Regions from separate parts of the Homo sapiens genome. Here regions 2, 3, 4 and 5 are each linked to region 1. Evidence: promoter capture Hi-C in human tissues and cell types (Jung and others, 2019). All regions are on one chromosome and are shown on one strand. Each heading gives the region's core, a stretch centred on a gene start or on the middle of the fragment in contact. The rest is flanking DNA. Distances are from core to core; before and after follow the strand shown. Region 1 holds the start of TBC1D10A (TBC1 domain family member 10A). Region 2 holds the start of LIMK2 (LIM domain kinase 2). Region 3 overlaps THOC5 (THO complex subunit 5). Region 4 overlaps NF2 (NF2, moesin-ezrin-radixin like (MERLIN) tumor suppressor). Region 5 overlaps MORC2 (MORC family CW-type zinc finger 2).

The links. Contacts are between HindIII fragments. The study calls those that stand out against the background at their distance.
Region 2: the fragment with the promoter of LIMK2 here is called in contact with the fragment with the promoter of TBC1D10A in region 1 in 2 of the 25 tissues and cell types used here (dorsolateral prefrontal cortex and heart left ventricle).
Region 3: a contact is called between a fragment that was not itself captured here and the fragment with the promoter of TBC1D10A in region 1, in 1 of the 25 tissues and cell types used here (hippocampus).
Region 4: a fragment that was not itself captured here is called in contact with the fragment with the promoter of TBC1D10A in region 1 in 1 of the 25 tissues and cell types used here (IMR-90 fibroblasts).
Region 5: a fragment that was not itself captured here is called in contact with the fragment with the promoter of TBC1D10A in region 1 in 2 of the 25 tissues and cell types used here (dorsolateral prefrontal cortex and hippocampus).

The regions. Positions count from the first base shown.
Region 1 is chr22:30,325,592-30,328,383 of GRCh38, forward strand. It overlaps TBC1D10A (TBC1 domain family member 10A), which reads right to left and starts at 1,350. Exons shown (of 9, transcript NM_031937.3): 1 at 1,082-1,350. The coding sequence starts at 1,290. RefSeq lists an enhancer at 1-706 and silencers at 923-972, 1,273-1,602. The HindIII fragment of the contact is 10,227 bases long and covers 1-2,792 here.
Region 2 is chr22:31,210,929-31,213,720 of GRCh38, forward strand. It overlaps LIMK2 (LIM domain kinase 2), which reads left to right and starts at 1,370. Exons shown (of 16, transcript NM_005569.4): 1 at 1,370-1,496. The coding sequence starts at 1,481. RefSeq lists enhancers at 911-1,090, 2,053-2,792 and a silencer at 1,071-1,470. The HindIII fragment of the contact is 2,868 bases long and covers 1-2,660 here.
Region 3 is chr22:29,541,524-29,544,315 of GRCh38, forward strand. THOC5 (THO complex subunit 5) reads right to left here. Exons shown (of 20, transcript NM_003678.5): 4 at 1,906-2,019; 5 at 1,336-1,433. Among named protein-coding and RNA genes, the nearest start is that of THOC5, 11 kb to the right of the region's middle. The HindIII fragment of the contact is 4,062 bases long and covers 1-2,792 here.
Region 4 is chr22:29,674,024-29,676,815 of GRCh38, forward strand. NF2 (NF2, moesin-ezrin-radixin like (MERLIN) tumor suppressor) reads left to right here. Exons shown (of 16, transcript NM_000268.4): 13 at 813-918. Among named protein-coding and RNA genes, the nearest start is that of CABP7-DT, 44 kb to the right of the region's middle. The HindIII fragment of the contact is 3,908 bases long and covers 1-2,792 here.
Region 5 is chr22:30,952,270-30,955,061 of GRCh38, forward strand. All of the region lies in intron 3 of MORC2 (MORC family CW-type zinc finger 2), which reads right to left. Among named protein-coding and RNA genes, the nearest start is that of MORC2, 15 kb to the right of the region's middle. The HindIII fragment of the contact is 6,988 bases long and covers 1-2,792 here.

The sequences.
Region 1 (2,792 bases), core at 100-2,599:
CCATCTTTCCTAAGGGGACCGCCAGCCTGTACACATGATCTCTGAGGCCTGGGCTCGGGGGATTCTGTGGGGCAACATGGGGCCCAGCTTGGAGGCAAGGTGCTGTTCCACTGCCCCACATTTCTCTGTCTGCTAGCTGGGTGTCTGGGTGCTCTCGGGATAGGACATCGGGGGGTGCTAATATGAGCAGGGACCCTGCTGTCTCCCTGCCTGCCCCCGTCCCACGCCCAAGATCTGCCCTTGGGAGGAGGCGCATACATACACAGGACATACACAGAGCCCATCTACTGGCTCCTGTGGCTGCTGGAGCTGATGGTCTGTCCTAGTGGTGGGGCTCCCTGTCGCCCTGTACGTGCTGGGAAGGGGGAGTACCTGCCCACCTGTTGCCAGTGCCAGTGGAGGAAGCTGTGTATGAGCGGATAGGGGGCCCTTCTCCGACCCTTCCATGAGGAGAAGGGACTGTCTGTCCCAGGATGGAGCTGAGGGGAGGGAGGTGACCAATGTCTGTCCATCCAGAGGTCTGTATGCCTCGAGGAAAGGGTCAGTCTGTCCTGGGAAGGGGTGGGGGCGGGGCAGTCAGTCCTGAAGTCGGTCTGAGGTCTCCTGGTGTGGGGGCAGTGAGGCGGGGAGACAAGGGCGTCTGTGGGTTTGTGGGAGGGGGAAAGATGGAGAATGAGTGTCTATGGAGGGGGGCGCCAGCCATCTGGGAGCCTGTCGGGGTGGCAGAAACAATCATCCCTAAGGTCTTGGCGGCAGGGGTGGGTTTGGGGCAGTCTGTCATTCTGTTCCACGGCTGGAAGGAGGGCACAGTCGGTCCTTCCTGGGAGCGGGTCAGTCTGTCCGGAGGGTGGAGGTGGCGGGTGGAGGTGTGGGCCCGTCCGCCCCCTGGGTCGGAAGTAGGACTGCGAAGGGGGCGGGTCTAGGAAGGCAGGGGTGGTGGGGGTGGGGCAGGGGAGGGAACGGGGATTAGTGGTCCCTGCCTGGGAGGGGGACGTGTCGGCAAGTCCCGAGGGCGCCTCCGTCCGTGTCGAGGCCCCTCGCGTGGGTGGCGCGCTCAGTCCCGACCCCCGGCGCTACTCACGCGCCCTCGGCGCCCTGCGAGCCCACGATGAAGCCGAACTTGTCGATGCGGCGCTCGGCGAAGCCGTTGGCCTCCGAGTCAGACCCGAGAGAGCTGAGTTCGTCGGTGGTTGCGGCGTCGGGGCCCTGGGCCAGGCTCTCCCGGGTTCCCGACAGGCTTTCCCCGGCCGCGGGCGCGCGCGGCCCATTCTCTCCGTTGCTCTTCGCCATCCCAGCCGCGCCCGCCGCCTGAGCTCCAGCGGCCACCTCAGCCGCCCTGCTGCCGCCGACGCCCCGCCCACGCGCGGCGCCTATTGGCCGCCGCAAGGCCGGGGGGCGGGGCTCCAGGCCCACCCCGGAGCTCTCCCCCCACGCCCAATGGGCGCCGCGGACCCCGGGCCCCGCCCACCCTCCCCCGGCGGGCGCCAACAAGCCCGAAGTGAGGGGGCGGGGCAGCCGTCACCGCAGCCCTCCCCGCCCTCCTCCGGGCTGCCAATCACAAGAACTCACCTGGACGAGCTCGGGCCTTTCCGGGTTGGCTCCAAGCGGGGCCTGTCACCTACTGCAGAGCGCGAGCCGGAGGCCCAGGGCTTCCTCCATGGATTCCTCATCTGCCTCCTGAGCCCCGCTCCCTGCGAGACCCCAAGGACGTGGTAGGGATTGTTTGCCCCATTCATTTATGAGGAACTCTGAGGAGGCCCAAGTGAGTTCAGGGACGCAGAGCGGCTTAAAGGCCCAGCCTGAGCCAGAAGTCTGGCAGTCCCATTGCACTCACTGCTTCTGGGGCTTTAAATTACCTCGTGAGACCTAATTATTAATAATCACCAGCGTTTACTGAGCCACGCACGCCCGAAGCTCTACCTACTTTCTCCTGTAGTCTTTTCCCCAGCAGTTTTATGGAACATAAACATACCATAAATTCACGTTTAAAGTGTACAATGATTTTTAGCATATTTACAGAGTTGTGCAGCCATCACAACATTCTAATTTTAGAACATTTTCATCACCCCAAAAAGAAACTCCTACCAATTAGCAGTCACTCCGCATCCTGGCTCCCCCAGTCCCTGGCAACCACTAATCTGCTTCCTGTTTCTATAGATGTCCCTTTTCTGGATATTTCATATAAATGGAATTATACAATATATGGCCTTTTATGTCTGGATTCTTTCTCTTGAACATTTTCAAGTTTCATCCACATTGTAGCATGTATCAGTGCTTCTGGATTCACATCTGCCCCAGGTATGTCTGACTCCACCCCTCCCTTTCCTGGGATAGGCCCACACCGCCATGAAAGACCTATACTGCCCCTCCTGGGAGCTGGGACTATACCAGATTTTGTTTTTCCATTCATCAGTGATGGTCATTCGCGTGTTTCTAGTTTTTAGCCATTATGAATAATGCTGCTCTGACCATTCAGGTACAAGCTTTTGTGTGGGGGCCTTATGTTTACATTTCTCTTGGATAGATAAGGAAGAGTGGAATTGCTGGGTCATATGGCAACTGTTTAACCTTTCGAGGAACTGGCAAACTGTTTTCCAAATTGGTTGCAACATGTCTTGTAATCTCTTAGCAATGAGGTATACACCATTATTAGTCCCATTTTACAGTTAAGGAGACTGAGGTAAAGTCAGTTGCCTAAGGTCCCAGAATTAGCTGTGAATATAGCCAGGATTCGAACTTAGCTCTTACCAACTGCCTATATTTGGAGGGATGGGCCGATTTTATCTATATGG
Region 2 (2,792 bases), core at 120-2,619, 890 kb after region 1:
GCACACTCAGGACATCGTGAGCCACCTGCCACACCCAGAAGAGAAAAATCTGACCGGCATCCGGTTTGAATTAGAGCAGGAAGGAAGAGAATTGTGCTCGCCTTTGTCTTTGCCTTTGCCTTTGCTTACCCAACTGCTGGGACCAGAGGCAGCTGGGTTGAACTTTGTCTTTGGTCAGGGGTGGGGGTGGAGGGGACAGAATCCATTTCCCTGGGCTCCATCCTCTTTCTGGTCATTTGGACATGTTTCCTGTGATCTAAATCTGATGTAAGGAAATGACAATTGTGAAAGACCCAGCGTGAGAGAATCTGATGGGAGGGTGGGTCATCAGGGACCAGCTGGCCTGGCTGATGATGTATTAATATCTTAATCACACAGAGGACCCCAATCTCCTTCCAAACCTAATGAGCGGAAGTGGTTCTCAAAGCTACTCAGCCAGCTAGCAGCTGCCATAACCCAGTCAGCTGTCCTAACTCTTAGTCCTGTAATCCCTCCTCCTCATAGAAGATTGTAAACTGGCAGCCCACAGGGCAAATCTAGTGGCCAGGTGTGTTTCATTTGGTCTACATGGCATTTTAAGAACTTTTTGATGCTATCAACATTTTTTAAAAGTGGCAAATTTCACCTAAATATCTGGATTTTTGGCATGTTTTGAAAGGTTGGAAGACCTGGGAATGGTAGGCCCATGTTCCTGCAGGGGAGTGCTCGTCTTCCAATGCGGCGCACAAGCTCCAGCGTCCTGCGCTAAACCTAATTGGCCTGGCTGAGGATCTGCTCCTGGAATGCTGGTTGGTCGCCTCCAACTGTCTTTGACTTAGAGATTATTTACTGTCAGCTTACTCATAGTGGCGCAGAGAAGTGGTTTCTCTGAGCTAGAAGCTTCTAAGAAAAGTCCATCCTCAAAGCTGTTTGTGGGATAGACCTGGCTCCTCCATTGTAATATTCCTGATTCCAAACACTACTGGAAAGAGCTCTGAACTGGCAGTTAGCAGGCCTGGGCTCCCATCCCGGCTCTCCTCCTAATGAGCGAAGCCATTTCAATGTAGTCGAACTTAGCCTCTGATCCTTAACTTTCCCTATCTGTAAATGAGGGCGACTAGATGGGTGCGGACTGTCATCCGTGTTGAGACTTCCGGCCCCCGCAGAATCAACCTTACCGGCGGGAGCACCTCGAGGGGACGCCGCTCGCACTAGGGGGCGCCAGGGCCGCTGCAGAGCCCGAGCCAGAGCCAGGGGGCGGGGCCGCGTCTCGGGAGCGAGGCCTGAGAGCGGCGGGGCGGGGCGTCGGCGGGCAGTCCCCTGTGCCAGGTGTGGTTTGGTCCTCCCAGGGCGCCGTAGGCGGTGCATCCCGTTCGCGCCTGGGGCTGTGGTCTTCCCGCGCCTGAGGCGGCGGCGGCAGGAGCTGAGGGGAGTTGTAGGGAACTGAGGGGAGCTGCTGTGTCCCCCGCCTCCTCCTCCCCATTTCCGCGCTCCCGGGACCATGTCCGCGCTGGCGGGTAAGGAAGGGCTGCTCCGCCCTGTCCCGCTGTTATCTCCGAAGTCCGGTTCCATGGCGCCTGAGGGAAACCGGCTGTCTCTCGGGGGTTTCGGGCTGGTTGGGTCCTCGTGGGTCCGAGCTCCTCAGAAAAGCTGGGAGGCGGGGTGGGCACAGCGCTCCCCAGGCATTTGGAGGGTGGGACTCCGGGAATGGGGAGGCAGGGCATCCTGGAGACAGAGGGCTCCGAGGGGCAGGCGGGTTGGGAGGCTTCCCGCGAGTTGAGGTCCCGGGGAGGAAGAGATTCTGGGTCTGCCAGGAATCCAGCTTTTTGGAGGGACCTGGCGGCCGCAGACCCCCAAATTAACCCTTTTTAAGGAAGTTGAAAAGCATGGGGTTCTCTTATAGTGGAAGCTCTGTGGAATTTGAGGAGTACAGGATCCTCTAGGGTTCAGGACAATTAGGAGAGTTACCCCGGGTTCTGGGTTTTCTGAGGGAAATGGAGGATGTGACTTCCCTGCCAAGACCCAAGGCTTCTCGCGGGCATCTTGGTGTCTGGGAGTCCCCCGGGGCTGGGAGCTCTTTGCAGAAAATAAGGGAGTATGGAGCCCCTTGAGGTTTAGGACAGGACTAAGGGTAAGGAGAGATCGGACCATTCTTTTTGGGGCCCAAAGATCTCTGCTACAGGTGGCGAAAGTAGGCCACCTGGGGTTCTGAGTCCTCCTGTGGAAGCTCCCTTGGCCTCTCTAGACTAAAGACTAGAGGGATTCGGCCAAACACCTCCTGGAAGGAAGAGTTGTCTAAGGGTGAAGGGTAGCTTCAGAGTTGGGTTAGTTGCACCTGCAGTCACCTCCCCGCCACCTCACACACCACCCTGCAGCTTCCTGCCTTCCCCATCTTTTCCCCCAGCAGTAGGAACCTTCTGTCTCCTATGTTTCCCAGCCACCTGTGTGGGTGGCCCACCTCTGGGTCCACCAGGGTCAGCGTCCAGAAGCTTTGGAGAGGCGGCAAGAGGGTATTGAGGTGGAGGGGGGCTGGCTATCTGCCCCCTGCTTCCTGGCTTTCCGTCTGTGGACAGTCACTTCCTTCATCTTGAATGCAAGGACTGGGCTACCAGTGGGTCACTTCCTCAGCAAGGGAGCATGGGATTTTCTCTTCACTGGTGATAACAGACTTCTGGAGAGAGCTAGGGGTGGAAATGCCTAAAACAAATTTTTTTAGGCTGGGCGTGGTGGCTCATGCCTGTAATCCCAGCACTTTGGGAGGGCAGGGCAGGAGGATCGCTTGAGTCCAGGAGTTTGAGACCAGCTTGGGCAAT
Region 3 (2,792 bases), core at 206-2,705, 780 kb before region 1:
AAGACAAAAAACAAAACAATCAATCAGTATCATGATTATTAAAAATATTCCGGACCCACCGGGTGTGGTGGCTCACGCCTGTAATCCCAGCACTTTGGGAGGCTGAGGCAGGCGGATCATAAGATCAGGAGATCGAGACCATCCTGGCTAACACGGTGAAACCCTGTCTCTACTAAAAACACGAAATATTAGCCGGGCGTGGTGGCAAGCGCCTGTAGTCCCAGCTACTCGGGAGGCTGAGGCAGGAGAATGGCGTGAACCCGGGAGGCGGAGCTTGCAGTGAGCCGAGATCACGCCACTGCACTCCAGCCTGGGCGACAGAGCAAGACTCCATCTCCAAAAAAAAAAAAAAAAAAAAAAAAAAAAAAAAATATATATATATATATATATATATATATATCCTGGACCCAATGTCTAATAGGGCCCCTGCATATGTCAAGTTTGTTACAGATAAAAGCTGCTTTCAGTTTGCATAAACAGGTCTGATCAAGTGAGAACACTTCCCCTTCTCTTCCCGTTTACTCCTTCCTCCTTCTCATCTCTCAGCTTGGTTTTGAGGAAGGACACTGACAAACTGTAGTTTCTTCACCTGAAGGCAGCTAAGCAGCAAGAAATTCAGGTTCCAAAGAATAAAATCCATTTGCAGAAATGAACTGCTGGGACTACAGAAAGGAAAACTGGGCCAAAAGGTTAAAAGAATGTGACTGGAAGTGAGTTGCTCCCATACAACATGCCCAGAAATCAAACTGGTAATGTAAAGACCCCTGATAGGGAGAGAGACCTGCTTTTTACCAAGTGCAGAGCTCAAAACTCAAAAAGGTCAGAGAGACTTCTGAGGTTCTTTATGCAGCCTGAAATCACGGCTTGCAATTCTCCCACATTCACCCTTGCAATTTGCCCTTCTCCCAGATCCTACAGTTTTCTAAGCTCATCAGATTTCTTTTTAAAGAGAGACTTAGGCTGGGAGCGGTGGCTCACGCCTGTAATCCCAGCACTTTGGGAGGCCGAGGCGGGAGGACCACCTGAGGTCAGGAGTTCGAGAACAGCCTGGCCAACATGGCAAAACCCCGTCTCTACTAAAAATACAAAAATTAGCTGGATGTGGAGGTGGGCGCCTGCAATCCCAGCTACTCAGAAGGCTGAGGCAGGAGAATTGCTTGAACCCGGGAGGTGGAGGTTGCAGTGAGCTGAGATTGCGCCACTGCACTCCAGCCTGGGTGACAGGGCAAGACTCCGTCTCAAAAAAAAAAAAGAAACAGACTTACAGTGAGCTACATGGGAAAAAGCAGTTACCGAAAGACCACATGTGCCAAAGCCCTGTCCTCCCAAACTCACTTAAACTCCAAACATTTGGTGATCTCCTTCTGTAGGTGCATCACCTCATACAACAGGTTCTGGAGCTGCAGATGATAGGCATCTACTTTCTGCTTAGCCTGAAAGGAAAATACGATCAGAAGTGAGCAGGGCAAGTCAGGATGGAGCAGAGGAGAGGGTCAGCAAACTAAGAGAAGGTGTAAAGGGAATAAAGAAGGGGATGGGGCTGGGTGCAGTGGCTCACGCCTGTAATCCCAGCACTTTGGGAGGCCGAGGCGAGTGGATCACCTGAGCTCAGGAGTTCAAGACAAGCCTGGCCAACAAGGTGAAACCCCATCTCTACTAAAAAATACAAAAATTAGCCAGGCATGGTGGTGGGAGGTGCCTGTAATCCCAGCTACTTAGGAGGCTGAGGCAGGAGAATCGCTTGAAGCTGGGAGGCAGAGGATGTGGTGAGCTGAGATCGTGCCACTGCACTCTAGCCTGGGGGACAGAACGAGACTCTGTCTCAAAAAAAAAAAAAAAAAAAAAAAAAGAAGGGGATGGGGAGGAGGAAGGAGGAAGGTTAAAATTAAACCTTTTAACTACTACCTCGTGGGTCTGATCTCTTCCTTTCTTCAACCTGATGTGGGCTAATCGGTTAAGCTTCTTTAGAGTCATGAAATGCACACAGCTCTGGATCCTCCGTTCTTCTATTTCTATTGCCTGTGGGCAAAGAAAACAGTAAAGCCCACTGACGACAGGGCTAGCTCAGCTTCCTTCAGTCCTTCACCACTGACCCATCCTCATCTGGGGCCAAAAACGGCACCGGAGGGAGCTCAGAACCATGAGAAGGGTCATGAAGAAAATAAGAGGATGATTGTATAAGGAAAATGATTAAGAATCTCGGGCAAAAAAAAGTAATTTCTGCTTGGACTAGAGTAACAGGAATTGAAGATGGAATAAGGGCAGCAAAGGCACAATCTATCTCTACAGATCCTACACAGAGATCCCAGCAATAGTAACATCTTGTCATAAAATTTGACCTCTATAAATAACATTACAGGATAACTTAAATGGAAAATAACAGAATTATAGCCATAAAGCTTGGCTAGAATAGATTGAATGCAATAATTCTAACAAAACTTGTCAGCATAAGCACAAATACGTGAGATTCCTGGGGGAAAAAATGGATTTTAAAAAACTTATCTATCGAGTTTTTAGTCACATTGTTTAATTTCTCTGCCCCTAAAACCTCATTTATTCATTTACTATTAATGATAATTTCATTTTTGGTATCTACAATTTACTTGTACACATCCATCTTTGTATCAAGCAAATGTATAAGTACCATCATTTCTCAACACCTAGCAAAATGCCTGGCACTTAATAAATATTAATTGGATGAATGATCAAATTAGTAGGGAAAAAATTAATTATCCTGTACTTTCATTCCTGTAATTGGTGACTGAATGGTGATAAGAAGTTCCAATAAATTC
Region 4 (2,792 bases), core at 149-2,648, 650 kb before region 1:
CTGTACTTTTGAAAGACTATTCTAGGCCTGCAACCTTCAGATAAACACTGACACATTCCCCACAGCTTTTGGCTCTGTTGATTTAGAGCACTTGAATTTGGCTTTTAGCTACCAAGGTGCATTCACTACAGTTTTCCTCACCACGCTTTGCATGTCGTTCTGGGAATATGGTTCCTTTTTGCCTGCCCTGCTTCAGGCCCCTTACTGTATTCGGGGGTCACTCCCTGTGCATGATGCAGGTTGGGCCAGGTCCCTGCACCAGGCCTCACATGCCGTGACCACCTGAGCCCCATAGGATGAGGATCTGCACCAGGGTGCGGGTGCCCTCAGTGACTGGGCTCATCTTTCTGCTGGAGAAAGTGGGCACAAGGCCCACTGGTGTTTTATCCGGGGGCTGTGAAGACGCAGTTCTTGCACATTCTGCCCTTTGCGATCCAATATAAGAACTTTGATCCTCCAGGTTCTTCCTTTGCCCAGCTCACTCTCACCCAAAAATAAAGCAGAGAAAGCTGCTGGTGCCCTCTCCAGCTCCTCTGTCTCCTGGCTGCAGAAGGTCTGGTTTCTCTCATTCCCCACCAGTTTTCCTGCTCTTCCAGTTTAGATTTACCAACTCAAACAAAAGTCCTCAGGAATGTTGTCCTTGCTTGGAAGTTCTGATTTCATGTAAATATCCCTGTCTCACTGTCCTTTTTCACCTCTTTGGGTGCCATCCTCAGGGTTAGCCCAGGTCCCTCCTCTGCAGGGGTGGGGTGGTGTCTTTTCCTGCTACCTGCCCTCTTCTGTGAAGCTGACATCTCATCCTTTCCTTGCAGGGCCAAAGAGGCAGATCAGCTGAAGCAGGACCTGCAGGAAGCACGCGAGGCGGAGCGAAGAGCCAAGCAGAAGCTCCTGGAGATTGCCACCAAGCCCACGTACCCGGTGAGCCTGGGGGCCACCAGCTGGGGCTGCCTTAGTCCTGGTGATGTTCTCTTTCCTCCCGGCCCTTCAGTTCATCTGGCGGTGCCTTCAGGGTGACCATTCAGGCAAACACATGGCTGGATGAGAGGTGCAGAGAGCCTGCAGTTAGGGACTGGGTAGAACATCCTGGTCTGCCATTTGGCTTTGGACTAGTTAGTTGTCTCTTTGGTTGCCTGGATAACAGGCAACAGGGCCTTTTCCAGCTCTGGAATGTTTTTCTTTTTCTAAGTAATATAGTCCCAAATTATCCTCAAGAGAATTTGCTCTCTTGCCTCTTAATGCTGAGCTGAATGTAATCTTCAACTATCAGTATATACCATATATCATAATTATAGTTCTGGGAAGGGATTGGCTGTACACCTCAGAGTGAATTACTGCCGTGCAAGAACGAGCAGCCACTCTCAGTTTGGGGACAGAGAGTCAGACTTCCATTAAATGGGGTCACAAAATGAATAGAAGCCTCTTTCCTTCCTTTCTTCTGTGCATTCAGTTTGGCATTTTTTTTTTTTTCATATTTGTTCAGTGTCCACATAGTGCCATGCAGTTGGAAGTCTCTATCCTGACAGGTGTTCTCAGGGTGCACAGGTGCCTAGAGGAGGAGGACACAGCCCACCCTGGAGGAGCAGGAGAGGCTCAGTGTGGTGTCTACACTGATGCTTGAAGGGGGAGCAGGAAGTAGCCAGGTGGAGAAGAGAACATAGGGTATTCAGGGTGAGGGCACAGATGCACACATGGCCCAGACTCACACACAGCACAGTCATCTACATGGCACAGACACACACACGTACCCATACATACATTGATGCACATAGCACATCCACACACACAGCACGGACACACACGCACCCATACTTACATTCATGCACATGGCACAGGCACATACATGACCCAGATGCACAAAGGGCACCAGAGGCACAAGCTGCCCAGGGTTTGAGGTGGGGAAAATGTAAGCAGTTTGCTGTTGCCGTATATCCCGGTTCTCCGTTACTGTGTAACAACCCACCCAAGCCAGCTGTGTGGCTTTGTTAGTACCTCTGGTGGCTTGTTGGGTTGACTGGGCCAGACAGAGATCCTTGCTGGGGATCTCTCTGGTGGTCACAGTCAGATGGTAGCTGGGACTGGAGTCGTCTGAGCAGTCAACTGGGCTGAACACCTGAGATGTGTTATGTTTTTATTTTTTATTTTATTTATTATTTTTTTTTTTAGAGAGAGAGAGTTTTATTTACTCTGTCACCCAGGCTGGAATGCGGTGGCAGAATCTCGGCTCACTGCAACCTTAGCCTCATAGGCTCAAGCGATCTTCCCGCCCCAGTCTCCTGAGTAGCTGGGACCACAGACATGCACCACCACGCCCAGCTAATTTTTTTTTTTATTTGGTAGGGACAGGGTTTTGCCATGTTGCCACAGCTGGTCTCAAACTCCCGAGCTCAAGTGATCTGCCTGCCTCAGCTTCCCAAAGTGCTGGGATTATAGGCATGAGCCACTGTGCCCAGCCTATATGTGTTGTTTTTAAAATATACACTGGAGCAAAGCTTATACACTGCTGTAACTGCTCTTTCCTCTTAGCAGTCAATCCTGAAGGAGATCATCCATATCAGCTTTTTAATCATGTTTTGTTGTGTGGATGGATTGTAATTTATTTAACCAGTCCCTCATGGATGAGTATTTAGTCTGTTTTCTTTTGCAATTTTGAACAAAATGACACTGAACATCCCTGAACACAAATCTTGACACACACACGTGGATATATTGGTAGAATAAATTCTTATAATAGAACTGTGGGGTCAAATTTTCGATTTTGATACTCTCCAAAGAAGTCATACCAGTTCATGCTC
Region 5 (2,792 bases), core at 109-2,608, 630 kb after region 1:
GTACACTACAGCCGCAAAATGTGCATGAAGACTCTGCTTTGGGATCTAGAAATTGATTCAAGCCAAGCACCTCTGAAAAGTCCCCAAGGACTACTGGCATTCTTTGGACACTGCCTAAGAAGTTACTTTCTAGGCTCTTGTGTTAGGATAGAACTCTTAGGCTGCTTTAGCACACAATCATCACTTAACAGTGGGGCTGGTATCCTTTTCTGGCTCAAGGACTTCATTTCAAAGCTTTTTCGTGTAGTTTAAAGGGTAAGAGATGACACTGGGGGGATCCTCCTGGCTACATAGTAACTGACAGCCTATAAATGGCTAGTAGTGTCTAGGTCCATGGCCACATGCAATACTGCCTCAGGGCCAAGAAAGACTAAGACAGCATTGACTTCTTCAACTTTGTAAACAGACAGTGTGGTCTCTTCACCTTGTTCAAATGCTTATGCCAATCACTTGTTTATTTAATGACTACTTAGTGATCAGCTCTTCTGTGCCTGGTTATGATGAGGACAAGAGCAGTGAACAGTACATATGCGATCACTGTCTTCATGGAGCTTACATCTAATGGATTCTACTGCCTGCAGCAGATAAGCTAGGAAGTAAAGGACAGGAGGGTTTAAGCTGAAGGAAGCTTAGAAAAGTATTGGCTAGAGCAAAATGTAGTATGGGTAAGAATTATCCAAAGAGCTTGTGAAAATAGATTCTGGGCTCCCCCTGGATAGTCTGGGTACGTCTGAGGTGGGGCATTCGCATTTCTAACAAGTTCCAAGATGATATTGACAACATCTGTGGATGGACCACCTTTTGAGAAGCACTAAACTAGAGCAAGCAAGAACTCGAAGGCGTCCCTGCTCAAAACTATCTCCTCATATATTCCACCATAGAGATAGATTCCTATCACCTGATATTTAATCAGTCAACTGAGTGATATCTGAAGCCTCCAAAGATAAAGGAAGGGGAATTCTGGATAAAGAAGAGTCTAAGCAGCTGGGGGTTGTATGTTCCCCGCCTCCCATCACACATCTTGAAAGTAAGAGAAGGCAAAGCCGAACTGCCTGCTTTGCAGCTGTGCTTCATATCCTGGGAACAGCTCTGTAAGACTGTCAAAGCCAATCTGAAAGTCTGCACATCTCCCAGAATGGCCAAGTCTGGCTTCTGCAAGCCAGACATTCTTCATCTAACTCCCACTGGGAAGAATAAAGAAAGAAAGCAGGAAAAGACAAGAGATGTCAAATGGAGCTATACATCCAAAAGTCAAAGGTGATAAAATAATGGTGTCCCCAGGAGAGGCTGCAATAAAATGACATCCAAGTTCTTCATCATACTCTGCAATCTGTTTGAGCAGTATTAATTGCAGTTTCATTTGCTCCAATTTTCCATGTGTTAATCATTGCCCTGGCATCACGAAAAGGATCTTTCTTCCAAGGAGGTGGCACTACCTACCCCAGAAGGTCAAGAAAGTCAACAAAAACAGTCTGCTTATGACAGGCATATTATGGTCTATAATAATAATCCAACTAATAATAATATGCTTTGGGTAAATGAACACCTCTACACTTTGAGAGGCTGGCTCCTTTTTTGCCCTTTTTAGGTTTAAAAATGGTCTTTAAATGTGACTTTGTGGTGACTTCAAACTACATCTGATGTTTGGAAAGATTTCCAAGTCCAGTTATCAATCAGTTTCAGAAGTGGAGATAAGAAAATACTTTCCCCCATGAACTAACAACAAGAACTTTATAGTATTAAGATTATTACTGGCCAAGCGCATCGGCTCAGCCTGTAAGCCCAGCACTTTGGGGGGCCAAGGCAGTCAGATTACTTGAGCTCAGGAGTTTGAGACCAGCCTGGGCAACATGGTGAAAAAATATATATACAAAAATTAACCAGGTATGGTGGTGTGTGCCTGTAGTCTCAGCTGCTCGGGAGGCTGAGGTAGGAGGATCACTTGAGCCCGAGAGGTGGAGGTTGCAGTGAGCCTAGATAGCACACTGCATTCCAGCCTGGGTGAAAAAAAAAGATTCCACGGACTGATTTCTCCTGTTGAATGTGTTAACAAGGCCCTGTGGTAGAAAAGTGTAGGGTTAAAGATCCCTTAGCCAAGAATCCCAATCTCCTGGTACTTGAAGTAAATCAAGTCTTTTTCCAAAATGCTATGGTGCTTAGTGCTTCTATCACACCATTTAATCCTTAACTGTCTTGACTGTTCCCTCAAGATCTAGTTATTGTTCTCTAATTATCCATAGTGCATTAATTGTCTCTCCAATTAAAGACTAAGTTCTTAAAGCAAAGACCCCCATCTCCTCCTCTCTGGACATTTCCCAAAGCATAACAGGAGTTGTACTGAGCACAGAATAAAGACACACTGGGTCCTTTTTCATTTAAATTGAAATCCAACTTCATTCTGAGTGTCAGGAACTAAACTTCCTTGCTGAAATTTACCCACCAAATGTAGTAGGAGACAGCAGAGATGATCTTTTTTAAAAAACGTCTTCCAAGTAGACTTGACCATTACGATTTGTACCTTCAACATCACTTGGAGAAGAGGCCCATTCTCTGCTTTAGCATCTGTGCATTGATTAAATAAGCCCTATTTTTCCAGCGGTAGCTGTTACCATTCCTGAGAAAGCACACTCAGATGTAAGATACATGCTTTGGCTTGGAAAGGCACCTCCATCTGGCCTGAGCATTTTTTTTTTTTTTTTTTTTTTTGAGACGGAGCTTCGCTCTTGTTGCCCAGGCTGGAGTGCAATGGTGCGATCTTGGCTCATGGCAACTTCCACCTCCTGGGTTTAAGC